3 separate regions of the Homo sapiens genome follow, and regions 1 and 3 are each linked to region 2. The links are contacts of gene promoters, found by promoter capture Hi-C in blood cells and fetal thymus (Javierre and others, 2016). All regions are on one chromosome and are shown on one strand. The core of a region is centred on a gene start or on the middle of the fragment in contact, and the rest is flanking DNA. Distances in the headings are between cores, read along the strand shown. Region 1 has its middle 23 kb from the start of LINC01768. Region 2 holds the start of AHCYL1 (adenosylhomocysteinase like 1). Region 3 has its middle 2.4 kb from the start of GSTM3.

What was found. The method cuts DNA at HindIII sites, captures the fragments that hold promoters and counts their contacts. A CHiCAGO score of 5 or more calls a contact.
Region 1: a contact is called between a fragment that was not itself captured here and the fragment with the promoter of AHCYL1 in region 2, in 2 of 17 cell types (neutrophils and endothelial precursors). The highest score is 5.9, in neutrophils.
Region 3: a contact is called between a fragment that was not itself captured here and the fragment with the promoter of AHCYL1 in region 2, in 4 of 17 cell types (erythroblasts, fetal thymus, neutrophils and 1 more). The highest score is 6.0, in erythroblasts.

Annotation. Positions count from the first base shown.
Region 1 is chr1:109,802,747-109,807,120 of GRCh38, forward strand. No RefSeq gene overlaps it. Among named protein-coding and RNA genes, the nearest start is that of LINC01768, 23 kb to the right of the region's middle. The HindIII fragment of the contact is 6,934 bases long and covers 1-4,374 here.
Region 2 is chr1:109,981,923-109,986,270 of GRCh38, forward strand. AHCYL1 (adenosylhomocysteinase like 1) reads left to right here and starts at 2,843. Exons shown (of 17, transcript NM_006621.7): 1 at 2,843-3,250. The coding sequence starts at 3,131. RefSeq lists silencers at 3,069-3,138, 3,319-3,388. The HindIII fragment of the contact is 11,948 bases long and covers 1-4,348 here.
Region 3 is chr1:109,741,053-109,745,777 of GRCh38, forward strand. No RefSeq gene overlaps it. Among named protein-coding and RNA genes, the nearest start is that of GSTM3, 2.4 kb to the left of the region's middle. The HindIII fragment of the contact is 459 bases long and covers 1,172-1,630 here.

The DNA.
Region 1 (4,374 bases), core at 1,126-3,625, 180 kb before region 2:
GGGGGAAGTGAACTCAGCACTGCCCAGTTTCCTACCAGCTGGGCCCACGATTCTAGGCAGAGCTGGGCCTCCTGGTCTAGCTGCCTGCCCCTCTGCCACCCTGAAGGCCGACGCTGCGCTGCCTACAGGCCTGCTGCTGCTGCTCTCCAGCCTCCCACAGCTGCAGGATTGGGGTGTGAGTGAGTGTGTGGAGAAAGGGTTTCTGGGTTCCATTCCTGGCAAGGACTCTAAGACCTCCTGAGCCAACCTCTTGTCAGTGATTGTTCTGCTGCCCAGGGCTTCTGGGGCTGGTGACTGACTTCTCAGTGGCCCCGATTTTGTGTTCTTGTTGCTGACTCTTGGAAACCAAATGCTGGCAACCAGCCTGTGCCTGCCAGACTCCAGGCTGGGACCGTTAGATACATGATTGCTTTTCAAATTTGGAACAAGCAAAACATAAGCATGCTCATCAACACTCTTGTACAGAGAAGGAAAATGAGTCAGGATTGGGTGCCTTTTTCCAGTCTGCCTGCCAACTTTCTCCACCTTGCTCTGCCCCCTAGGACTGTGGGAACTACGTCTATGGGTGCCCTTACCCTCTGCCTTGGTCACTGGGGAGCGCCGATAGCTTATGGGAGGCAGAGAGGAGAGTGAGGTCAGGGCACTTAACCTCCTGTGGGGCAGCCACAGCCTGGCTGCATCCCTCCATGAGGCCACAGCTGCTGCCAGGCAGCCCTATCTACTCAGCTCCAGAGCTCTGCAGGTCCAGTGACCTCCCCTGGGGCCATCAGGTCCAGCATCAGGAAAGCCTGATGCTCTTGGTCCAGGTTCCTGCAATCCTTTTCCAAGACCTTTGACAATAGTCTCCTTATTGAATACTTCTCAAATCCCCCAGTTTGAGTATGTTGACGGCTTCCTCCTGGGACCCTGCATTATCCATACCATCCAGCCAGTTGATCAGCAAGGACTCCTGGGTCTGCCAAGTCACTACAGACTGCAGCTGGGCTATAGGAGGGGGTGCCCCTTTCTAATTCCTGCTCTTTTTTCTGGCTCTGCTCATACCCTCATCCATGTACCCCCTATTTCCCTGCTTTGCCTCCCACCCCAACCTACAGTGCTTCCCCTGCCAGATGTCTGGGGATGTTTAGAAGAGGAGAGTCACAGCCAAACAACTGCTTCTCCACCCCAGCCACCCTGATGCATCCGGGAAGTGGTGCTCACTGGGATCTGAGTTCTTAGGCGTCATAGGGCAGTCATGGAGGCCCTGGGTCCTTGAGACAGGTGTCCTGGAAGCCAGTGCACGGAAGCAGGGTGATTTCACATTGCTGGAAGAGTCCTCTTCTCTGGGGACCCTTCGCCAGTAAAACCCACCCTCTCACCTACTCACTCACTTGCAATTCAGAGAGGCTGGCTCACCACCAGGCCCACCCCAAGGGATCTGTGTATCACTTCCTGTGGGAGGCTCTCCCTGGCACCCGGCGGAGGCTGGCTGCCCATCGCATGCTCCCAGCACATCCCGTCTCTCCTCATGCTGTAACCCTTATCACACTGACATGGCTTGTCTGTTGTCCACGTCCACCACTGTACCCGCCACAACCTGGAATCCCTTGCACCTGGCACAGTGCTGGGCACACAGAGAGGGCTCAACAAATGTTTGTTAAATTAAAATGGAAAAAAAGGTATTTCAATCAATACTATGCAGGTTGCTCTTCCTGTATCTAGGTGGCCACTGAGAGAACAATGACCAGCTCTGCAGCTGGGGTCCTAAAGAGAAAACCAGCCTGCTGAGTCTGGAGACTGGGCTCTGTCCCTGCTGTGCCTCATGCTAAGTGTGTGCCTGTGGTCAAAGTCTCTGAGCTTTAGGTTTCTCATCTGTAAGATGGAGATAGTACTTACCTTAGTTTTCTATTGCTTCATAATAAATTATCACAAACTTATGGGCTTATAACAGCGCACATTTTTTAGGCTTAGCTGGGTCCTCTCCAGGGCTGCAGTGAAGGTGTCAGCCAGGGCTGGGTTCTTCATCTGGACGCTCAACTGGGGATGGATCCACTTCCAGGCTTATGAAGGTTGTTAGCAGAATTCATCTCCTTGTGGTTGTAGAACTAAAATCTTTGTGGTAACTGTTGGTCGGGGGCTGCTCTCAGGTCCTAGAGGCTGCCTGTAATTCCTTACCACAAAGCCTCTCTGTATGCCCCTTCAGATCATGGCACACACTTCTTCAAATTCAGCAAGGAAGAAAATGTCTAGCACCAGTCTGCTAGTAAGCCCAGGTCTTTTTTTTTTTTTTTTTCTTTTTTGAGACGGAGTTTTTCTCTTTGTTGCCCAGGCTGGAGTGCAGTGGCACGATCTCGGCTCACTGCAACCTCCGCCTCCCAGGTTCAAGTGATTCTCCTGTCTCAGCCTCCTGAGTAGCTGGGATTACAGGTACGCACCACCATGCCCAGCTAATTTTTGTATTTTTAGTAGAGATGGGGTTTCACCATGTTGGCCAGGCTGGTCTTGAACTCCTGACCTCAGGTTATCCGCCCGCCTTGGCCTCCCAAAGTGCTGGGATTATAGGTGTGAGCCACCATGCCTGGCCAAGCCCCCGTCTTTTATGGAATGCTTCATGAATTTGCATGTCATCCTTGCGAGCCCACGTTTTTTATAATATAACATAATCATAGAAATGACGTCCCATTCCCTTTGCTATATTTCCTTGTTTAGGAGCTACTCACAGGTCCTGCCCTATTTGAGGGCTGGGGGTCACAGAAAGGCATGGACATGGAGTCACTCCAGAGCTCTAGGAGCTAGAGTCTGAATCCTACAATGCTAATCTCTATCTCCTAGATTTCTGGAGAGAATTAAGTGAAAGAATGCCTGGCACTTAGTAAGAACTCAGGAAATGTCACAGAAGGCAGCAGAAGCAGCTGTCTTTACTTTGGCCCACTTTGAAATGTTGGCTCACAGCTTGTCCTCAGTCTGCACCTGCCCTGTTGCTTCCACCACGCTGCTGTGGTCACTTTTATCACGTGGCTGGATCTTGAAGGCAGTTGAATTTGCTAAGTGGTATTAGCTGGAACGATCAACAGGTGTTATTATCATTTTAATTAAAAGTTCTTGGAAGATAAGAACCCATCTTACCAATGTTTTCAGCCTCTGGTGCTTAGCTTGTTGAGCTTAGGATGTTGGCTTTAGCTTGGCTGCTCTGTAAGTGTTGAGCCATTGTACCCCCTAGAATGATGTAATTGAGTTCAGAGCTACAGCCTCAGGGTACAAGTGATGGTTGGTGGGGAGAAGGGAGCAGGCATGGGTTGGATGGGCAAGATAGGTGACAGCTGGGAGGAGCAGTAAGAGTCTTGGCAGGTCCCCGAGTCCAGATCCTGCCAGGGGAAGCGCCTCGGCCCTGCCGCCACGCCCACCCACCCTCCCAACTCCTGGATGCTCCAGGCTTTCTTCCATTCTTTCTGTTCAGCTCCCCTCACACCCCTACCCCCAAAGCAGAGTGGAGTGCAGTGGCGCCATCTCGGCTCACTGCAAGCTCCACCTCCCGGGTTCACACCATTCTCCTGCCTCAGCCTCCCGAGTAGCTGGGACTACGGGCACCTGCCACCACGCCCCACTAATTTTTTGTATTTTTAGTAGAGACGGGGTTTCACTGTGTTAGCCAGGATGGTCTCGATCTCCTGACCTTGCGATCCACCCCCTCGGCCTCCCAAAGTGCTGGGATTACAGGCGTGAGCCACTGTGCCCAGCTGGGCCCTGTCCCTTCTAATGTGGGAATAGAAGCCTGATTCTTTCACAGACATAGAGCTTCTGGGCCGGGAAGGGCCTTAGGCTTGGGGTGAACAACTGTCTTTAGGATGCAGGTGAGTTGTGTCTATTGAGCACCTACTTGTGCCACTGGGCTCTGCACTTTACATACTTCATTTCCACCATTTTTCAGTCTTCAAGGTGGATAAACCAAAGCCCAGAGAGGGAAAGCGGTTTTTTCTGGTCACATAGCTGCTAGGCGGCAAAGTTAGGACCAGAGTTTCGGTGACCTGAGCCACTGATCCAGGATTGCCTCTCTGTGACACTCCCTCCCACCCAAGTCTGTGGGCCCCCTGGTGTCAGTAGTGGAGCGTGTCTGCCTTGGCCCTAGTCCGGTTCTTCATACAGGCTGCTCTGACTCCCACCCACAGTGTCTTCCTTCCCGCCACCCTTCCTTCCAGAACTTGGCTCCAGCCTCCTACCAACTCTGTCCCACATCCCTCACCCCCAGCCTGGCCCAGAACCAGCTGGGGCAGATGGTCCAGACCCTGAGTGTATTCTTTCCCGGCAGGGACAGAAGCAGTTTGAGGCTTACACATCTGGGCAGCTGTTGCCCAACTTTGATCTGCAGGAAATAAGCCAGAGGGATCCTTCCTGTCA
Region 2 (4,348 bases), core at 1,593-4,092:
CTCTCCAGCACACACGTGATGGAAGGGATGGCAGCCACCCATGCCCCCTGCAGTGGCTGGTTTCCAAGAATGTCCCGGGCCCCTGGCCTCACTTGAACCACATAGGCCTAATGCTTTCCACCAGGGTAGGGGGTGCTGCCCTTCCCCTTTCCAGTCTGAGTCCCCGAACTCTCCTACATCAGCTCATCAACCTCCCCTCAGGCCAGCCACTCAGGTGAGTGGAGTCTGACCTGCTGATCTCCTTCTTAGCCCAGACTGCTAAGGTACTGCATGCTCTAGGCCTGGCCCTGTCTGTCATCCTCTGTAGCAGCAGCAATAGCAGACAACACTGTGAGCCTGGTGCTAGGGCAGACCTGGTCCAGGAGGAGTAAAGACTGAACTTCAATCTCCAGGAAGCTCACAGTCTGGATGCTTAAATGCACAGCAGAACTGGGGGACTGAGAGACAACATGTTTAGACAAAGTGAGTTCTAAAAATCAAATCCAAAAGACAGATACACTGATGCTTCTCTTTAAAAAAAAAAAAAAAAAAAAAAAAAAGATCTTCTTAAGTCACACATTTTTCTACTATAGGGACTTGAGATTTCATCCCTGGTTCCAATGGGTTCTGCCTCGAGTCTTTGGGCAGGCATCTCTGATCCCTGGGCTCTGCCAACAGTTTGGGCAAACCCACAAGGATGAAAGCCACTGTGAGCCTTATGTTCAGAGAGTCCTTAGTGCACCAGGTGTGGTTCCTGACCCCTAGCTGAAAGATGTCAGTCTGGCACCCTCATGGATGAACCTGGTATTCTGGTCTCCATCTCTGTTCCCGTTCTGCTACAGTGATGCCCCTGACAGGGAAGTGTGAGTGCTCAAAAAAGTGAGCAGATGAAAGAATACAAACAGTTCAAGACCAAGGTCTGCAGATGTGCAAAGGGTGCATTCTTCCAGGCACTTCTACAGCCCTTTTCAAACAGACAGTCTCATGAGGCTAGGTGGCTGGAACACAGGATTCCCTGACTAAGACTTTTAGGGCCCTAGAGGTGAATATTTCACACTCTCCCCAGCCCTGAACACAAATCAGTGGGGAAAATGCCATTTCAAACCAAAACTTCCTTCTTGAAAGGGTATGCCCTGTTAAAAACCTGGGAGGTTTCTGGATGTTAAAAGGTGGTCCTGGCCAGGCGCGGTGGCTCACGCCTGTAATCCCAGCACTTTGGGAGGCCGAGGCAGGTGGATCACGAGGTCAGGATCCGAGACCAGCCTGGCCAAGATGGTGAAACCCCGTCTCTACTAAAAATACAAAAATTAGCCGGGCACGGTGGCGCACGCCTATAGTCCCAGCTACTCACTCAGGAGGCTGAGGCAGGAGAATCACTTGAACCCGGCAGGCGGAGGTTGCAGTGAGCTGAGAGCACTCCAGCTTGGGCAACAGAGCGAGACGTCATCTCAAAAAAAAAAAAAAGGTGGTCCTGGGGAGGAATTTAGGGAAAGGGCACTGGGAAGACTGGAATTGCTCAGCACAGCAGAGGAGAATCTGGCTTCCCAGAGTCTATCAAGGAAGGAAGGATGAGGTGCAGAGATGGGAAGGGAGGAACAGGAGGAAGCTAGATTAGATGGCAATGGGCTAGGGAGCGTGGTGGGATCTTGTGGCCATTGAGAAATCCCCGGGTGGTAAGACAGCCAAAATAACTTTTCAGAACATTTCAGAAATGTGTTCTTAAATTGTTTGCTGTGTGATGTAATCTCTCCCCTGTGACCCACAAACCTTTATTAAAAGTTTTACTACATGTTACAGCCTTATTTTGTAGTTGTTTAGCATGGGGTGGGGGTTGAAAGGAGAAGCGGCTGAATTGACCCCAGGAGCTACAGAAACAGTCACAAGACCAGAATAGTGAATAAAATGCCAGACAAGGCAAAAAAACTAGAGCCAGAGGTGACCATGAAAATCCAAGTCCTCCCAGTAATGGACTTTCCACAGGACATGGTAATTGGAGCCAATGTCATTTGAATCTCAAAGGACAAGCTACCTCAGCTGACATTAGGATACAAGCAGGTTTTGCCTCTCCAGCTGAACTAAGCCTTGCAAAACATAAAATGCGTCACATGTCCTTTTGCCAGCAGGGCCTCAGCACAGGCACTGCACATAGTAGGCCCAGTAAAAGGGTGTGAGCAGTCCATGAATGTCCTGGATGCCCACTGAGAGCTGGAAGGGTCTAATGCTTTGGTGGAGCAAGGACCGGAAGGCCATTCTGGCTGGGGACTTCTCCATCAGCTCTCCTGGTCTCCACCCTCATACCCATCAGCCCTATCCCAATGAGGGTTTTGTAAACAGGCAAGGCCCAGTCGGAGATGGTGGTGGAGGAAGTCACAAAGCGTTGTGCAGAAACCAGACTACTCTGAGTCAGTTCTGCCCCCTATGAAGTCAAAAAGACAGGCACGGCCCCTTGGGAAGGAGCTTTAATCCAAAGGGCCTGGGGCTGGGCCAGTGAGTGAGTGGGCTGTCTCGAGCCCCGGACATTTCCTAGGAATCGCTGTAGGATGTGTCGTGTGGGGCTCTGGTCTTTGCTCCCAAACACCCCTTTCATGCGCCTCTGAGGCCTTGCCAGGAACCCCGCAGCCCAAAGACCCTCCGTTCCGCAGCATCGTTGCATGAACCTCGCGCTGCTCCCAGGGCTGATGGTGCCACCTGGTGGCACAAAGGGTCCTGCTCACCCTGGGAACTTCGCTCTCGAGCGGGAGAGGAACGGCTTCTGTGGCCCAGCCCAGCGTGGTGACGTCACGACAGAGTGCCCTTTCTCCCCGCCTCTTCCCCCTCCCGGGAGCTGCCAGTACTTGACGTGGCGTCACCGCCCTCTACCCTCGCTTTGCGTGCGTGTTTGCGTACAGCGGAGGTGGCGGCGCGGGCAGGTCGGAGCTCGGAGCTGCTGTTCTGGTTCTCTTGTGGCCGCCGTCGCTGTCCGGCTGCCTTGGGCTGCCGAACAGACAAGGCGTGGGCCACAGCACCTCAGAAGCCGACGCAGCTCGACGCAGGGGCCGGCAGGAGGGTGGGCGATCGCGTGTCGGAGGGCGCCGCGCGGGCAGGCGGGCGGGCGCCAGAGGGGGAAAGAGGCGGGGGCGGCGGGTCAGCCGCTGGCCGGGCCGGCCGGGGAATGTCGATGCCTGACGCGATGCCGCTGCCCGGGGTCGGGGAGGAGCTGAAGCAGGCCAAGGAGATCGAGGACGCCGAGAAGTACTCCTTCATGGCCACCGTCACCAAGGCGCCCAAGAAGGTGCGGGGGCTCTGGGTGGCGGCGGGGGCTCGGGCTCCGGCCTCGCGGAAGGGACGCGAGCAAGCCCGGGCTCTGGCTAGTTTGGGACTTCTGGGGGTGACTGGGGACGGCGGAGGTGATGTAGGGGGTGGCGGCTGTGCGGCCCCAGGCCTCTCCCGGGCTGAAAGGCCGCCTCTGACCTCGCTTTCCTTTGTCCCTCGGCCCAAGTCCTCCGGGATCGTTTTGAAACCCGACAGGGCCAGGCCTTAAATTTGCGACTGACTTTTCCTGGATGAAGGGCCTCGAAGACGAGAGTGGGAGGGGGTGAACCAACTCAGCTGACCCTTGTGACCAGTCCGGGGGCATGGGGTGTACAGAAAATCTCCCTTCAGGTGAGTGGGTAAATCTGGCAGAACTTCCATCAAATCTTTGGGAGCAGTGGCCGCTTTATCCAACAACTGCGTGATAGCTGGGAGGCAAGAGAAAAGAATGCGTGAAGCTAGCTCTGATATACAGGTGAAAGCGATGAGGGTAACATGAAACTGAAAATCTATGATTTTCACTTTCTACAGCATTCCAATTACTTCGAAATATGTAAGAAATTGACATTTGGAGGTTGGTGACAGCAGACACTGTCATGGATACAGGTGGATCCTAGAGTCATGTGAATAGATCACTTAGGCATCCCTGGAGAAAGGAGCTTGGGTGGGTTGGAGTAGTGGGTGGTAAGGGAAGATTGCTCACTCTTGACTGTACTTTTGAGGCAGAACAAGTTTGATCTATTGTGCTGTAGGTTGACTCAAAGGACACCCTTCGAATTCTCTCATAAATGGCAACCTTTGGAGATTTTAGTCTGACTAGCTCTCCGAGTGGTGGAATTGGGATCCTTATTGCTTTCTCATCATTTACTGCCAACCACATCTTGATTTTCCATACACCTGGCACCCAGTTAGCAGTAGACCAGAGAACCTTTACAAAGAGGTGACCTTCCTGAAGCCAGTGAGAACCCAGATAAATGTCTCCCTTCTTTATAAAGACAGAGTCTTACAAAGCTGTCTCTGCCTGCATCCAGTGTTTAATGGGATGCAGGGCTGAACAAAGCAAGGGCTGCAGGAATAG
Region 3 (4,725 bases), core at 151-2,650, 240 kb before region 2:
AAGAGGTCTCTTATCTTGAATGTTTCCTACCTTTGTTTTATGGGCTTAAGTAATTTATGGATTCCTTATTATAATTTCCTCCTCCAATCCCTCCCACTTCCTAATGCTCACGCATTTAGGGAAATTAATCTTGCCTCTTTGTGTAGGATGGACTGGAGGAGGAAAGGTACTACCATTTTTCATTCACTCATTCATCTGTCCAACAATGTTTAACATGCCTGTTATGGACAGGCACTGTTTTAGGTGCTGGGGATACAGAACTGAACTCAACAGACAAAATCCCTGCCCTCAGGAAGTTTACATTCTAATGGGGAAGAAATAAACTAATATATAGTAAATAGCTAGTAAGTCAGGTGGTGATACACATCCTATGGAGAGAAATAAAATCGAGAAGAGAGATAGGGGGTCTCAGGGTGGGAACTGGGGGAGTCCCAGTAGGAAGGGGATTTATGTTTTTAAAGGTTATGTTCATAGAAGGCCTCATGGAGAAGTTAATCTTTAAACAAAGACCTGAAGGAGGTGAGAGATCAAGCCACTCTGCTGTGGGGGCCACCATGGGCTGATATAAATATAAAACAGAATAATTGCTGTTCCTTTTACAAGCATGTTTGCTCTGCTCCTGCCTGCACCCTAATGTCCATGGCCTAGCCTTCCTCAAGTAGCCGTGCTCAAATGCTCACTTCTTCCTTGAAGCCTTCTCAGAATCACCCTCTATCCTGGCCAGAAGAGTTCTCTCCCTCTCTTATCTCGAATCACTTCCTACCTGCAGGAGGCAGAGAGAACTCCAGGAAAAGGGAAACAGCAAGTACAGGAGTGATCACTCTGTGTTTGAAACCAGAGACTAGATGAGATCACCATGGGAGCACGAGTAGCAGAGATGAGGTCTAAGGGTTTGAGGTGCTCTGGCATATCAACATGTAAAGGTTAGGGAAAAATGAGAGCAAACCAGCAAAGGAGTCTGAAAAGGAGTGGCCAGGGAGGTAGGAGGAAAACAAAAGGTCCCAGAAGCCATGTGAAGATGTTTAAAGGGAGAAGTGATCAACTATGTCAAGTGTGGCTGATCAAGTAAGATGAAGATGGAGAATCAATGGTTGAATTTAGGAAAGTAGGGGTTTTGACCTTGACAGAGCAAGAGACCTGCCCGAGGCCCCTATAGTCATGGGAAGAACTAAGCTTCTGAATTTCGGCAGGGCCCATGCAAATGAAAAGGGGCACAGATTTGCAACAGGGTCAACTCGGGAGACATAGGATTCTAGTTGAATGTGGAGGAGTGACAGAGGAAGGAGTCCGGAGCTGCTCTGAGGGTTCTGGCCAGGCCTCTGCAGCACAGCTCTCAGGGCAGTCTGAGAGCCTAGATCCCCTAGCTCAGGTGTGGGAAATCACATTTGCCCATCAGTTCAACTGAAGCAAGGTTGGGACTTTTTAAAAGGGCATTTTGCTAAACAGAAGAAAGGAAGAGTACAAACCACATGGACAGGTGAAATTTATAATGCCTGTGTCTCTCCTCCCAAGAAAGCAAAAGGCCAGTCACAAATTCACCTGAGGTATAAGATTAACATTTATTGAGCACCTATCATATGCCAGGCAATATCTAAGTGTTTACGTATGTTAGCTAATTTATTCCAATTTAAGCTTCACAACAACTTTAGGAAGTAGGTGTTATGCCCATTTTCTTTTCTTTTTCTTTTTTTTTTTTTGCAGTTTTTGCATTACTTTCTTTTTTTTAAATTTTATTATTATTACACTTTAAGTTTCAGGGTATATGTGCACAATGTGCAGGTTTGTTACATATGTATACATGTGCCATGTTGGTGTGCTGCACCCATTAACTCCTCATTTAACACTAGGTATATCTCCTAATGCTATCCCTCCCCCCTCCCCCCACCCCACAACAGTCCCTGGAGTGTGATGTTCCCCTTCCTGTGTCCATGTGTTCTCATTGTTCAGTTCCCACCTATGAGTGAGAACATGCGGTGTTTGGTTTTTTGTCCTTGCGATAGTTTGCTGAGAATGATGGTTTCCAGTTTCATCCATGTCCCTACAAAGGACATGAACTCATCATTTTTTATGGCTGGATAGTATTCCATGGTGTATATGTGCCATGTTTTCTTAATCCAGTCTATCGTTGTTGGACATTTGGGTTGGTTCCAAGTCTTTGCTATTGTGAATAGTGCCGCAATAAACATACGTGTGCATGTGTCTTTATAGCAGCATGATTTATAATCCTTTGGGTATATACCCAGTAATGGGATGGCTGGGTCAAATGGTATTTCTAGTTCTAGATCCCTGAGGAATCGCCACACTGACTTCCACAATGTTGAACTAGTTTACAGTCCCACCAAAAGTGTAAAAGTGTTCCTATTTCTCCACATCCTCTCCAGCACCTCGTTTCCTGACTTTTTAATGATTGCCATTCTAACTGGTGTGAGATGGTAACTCATTGTGGTTTTGATTTGCATTTCTCTGATGGCCAGTGATGGTGAGCATTTTTTCATGTGTTTTTTGGCTGCATAAATGTCTTCTTTTGAGAAGTGTCTGTTCATATCCTTTGCCCACTTTTTGATGGGGTTGTTTGTTTTTTTCTTGTAAATTTGTTTGAGTTCATTGTAGATTCTGGATATTAGCCCTTTGTCAGATGAGTAGGTTGTGAAAATTTTCTCCCATTTTGTAGGTTGCGTGTTCACTCTGATGGTAGTTTCTTTTGCTGTGGAGAAGCTCTTTAGTTTAATTAGATCCCATTTGTCAATTTTGGCTTTTGTTGCCATTGCTTTTGGTGTTTTAGACATGAAGTCTTTGCCCATGCCTATGTCCAGAATGGTATTGCCTAGGTTTTCTTCTAGGGTTTTTATGGTTTTAGGTCTAACATGTAAGTCTTTAATCCATCTTGAATTAATTTTTGTATAAGGTGTAAGGAAGGGATCCAGTTTCAGCTTTCTACATATGGCTAGCCAGTTTTCCCAGTACCATTTATTAAATAGGGAATCCTTTCCCCATTGCTTGTTTTTGTCAGGTTTGTCAAAGATCAGATGGTTGTACATATGTGGCATTATTTCTGAGGGCTCTGTTCTGTTCCATTGATCTATATCTCTGTTTTGGTACCAGTACCATGCTGCTTTGGTTACTGTAGCCTTGTAGTATAGTTTGAAGTCAGGTAGCATGATGCCTCTGGCGTTGTTCTTTTGGCTTAGGATTGACTTGGCAATGCGGGCTCTTTTTTGGTTCCATATGAACTTTAAAGTAGTTTTTTCCAATTCTGTGAAGAAAGTCATTGGTAGCTTGATGGGGATGGCATTGAATCTGTAAATTACCTTGGGCAGTATGGCCATTTTCATGATATTGATTCTTCCTACCCATGAGCATGGAATGTTCTTCCATTTGTTTGTATCCTCTTTTATTTCCTTGAGCAGTGGTTTGTAGTTCTCCTTGAAGAGGTCCTTCACATCCCTTGTAAGTTGGATTCCTAGGTATTTTATTCTCTTTGAAGCAATTGTGAATGGGAGTTCACTCATGATTTGGCTCTCTGTTTGTCTGTTATTGGTGTATAAGAATGCTTGTGATTTTTGTACATTGATGTTGTATCCTGAGACTTTGCTGAAGTTGCTTATCAGCTTAAGGAGATTTTGGGCTGAGACAATGGGGTTTTCTAGATATACAATCATGTCATCTGCAAACAGGGACAATTTGACTTCCTCTTTTCCTAATTGAATACCCTTCATTTCCTTCTCCTGCCTAATTGCCCTGGCCAGAACTTCCAACACTATGTTGAATAGGAGCGGTGAGAGAGGGCATCCCTGTCTTGTGCCAGTTTTCAAAGGGAATGCTTCCAGTTTTTGCCCATTCAGTATGATATTGGCTGTGGGTTTGTCATAGATAGCTCTTATTATTTTGAGATACGTCCCATGAATACCTAATTTATTGAGAGTTTTTAGCATGAAGTGTTGTTGAATTTTGTTAGAGGCTGTTTCTGCATCTATTGAGATAATCATTTGGTTTTTGTCTTTGGTTCTGTTTATATGCTGGGTTACATTTATTGATTTGCGAATGTTGAACCAACCTTGCATCCCAGGGATGAAGCCCACTTGATCATGGTGGATAAGCTTTTTGATGTGCTGCTGGATTCTGTTTGCCAGTATTTTATTGAGGATTTTTGCATCAATGTTCATCAAGGATATTGGTCTAAAATTCTCTTTTTTGGTTGTGTCTCTGCCCGGCTTTGGTATCAGGATGATGCTGGCCTCATAAAATGAGTTAGGGAGGATTCCCTCTTTTTCTATTGATTGGAATAGTTTCAGAAGGAATGGTGCCAGCTCCTCCTTGTACCTCTGGTAGAATTCGGCTGTGAATGCATCTGGTCCTGGACTTTTTTTGACTGGTAAGCTATTGATCGTTGCCACAATTTCAGAGCCTGTCATTGGTCTATTCAGAGATTCAACTTCTTCCTGGTTTAGTCTTGGGAGGGTGTATGTGTCGAGGAATTTATCCATTTCTTCTAGATTTTCTAGTTTATTTGCGTAGAGGTGTTTGTAGTATTCTCTGATGGTAGTTTGTATTTCTGTGGGATCAGTGGTGATATCCCCTTTATCATTTTTTATTGCGTCTATTTGATTCTTCTCTCTTTTCTTCTTTATTAGTCTTGCTAGCGGTCTATCAATTTTGTTGATCTTTTAAAAAAAACCAGCTCCTGGATTCATTAATTTTTTGAAGGGTTTTTTGTGTCTCTATTTC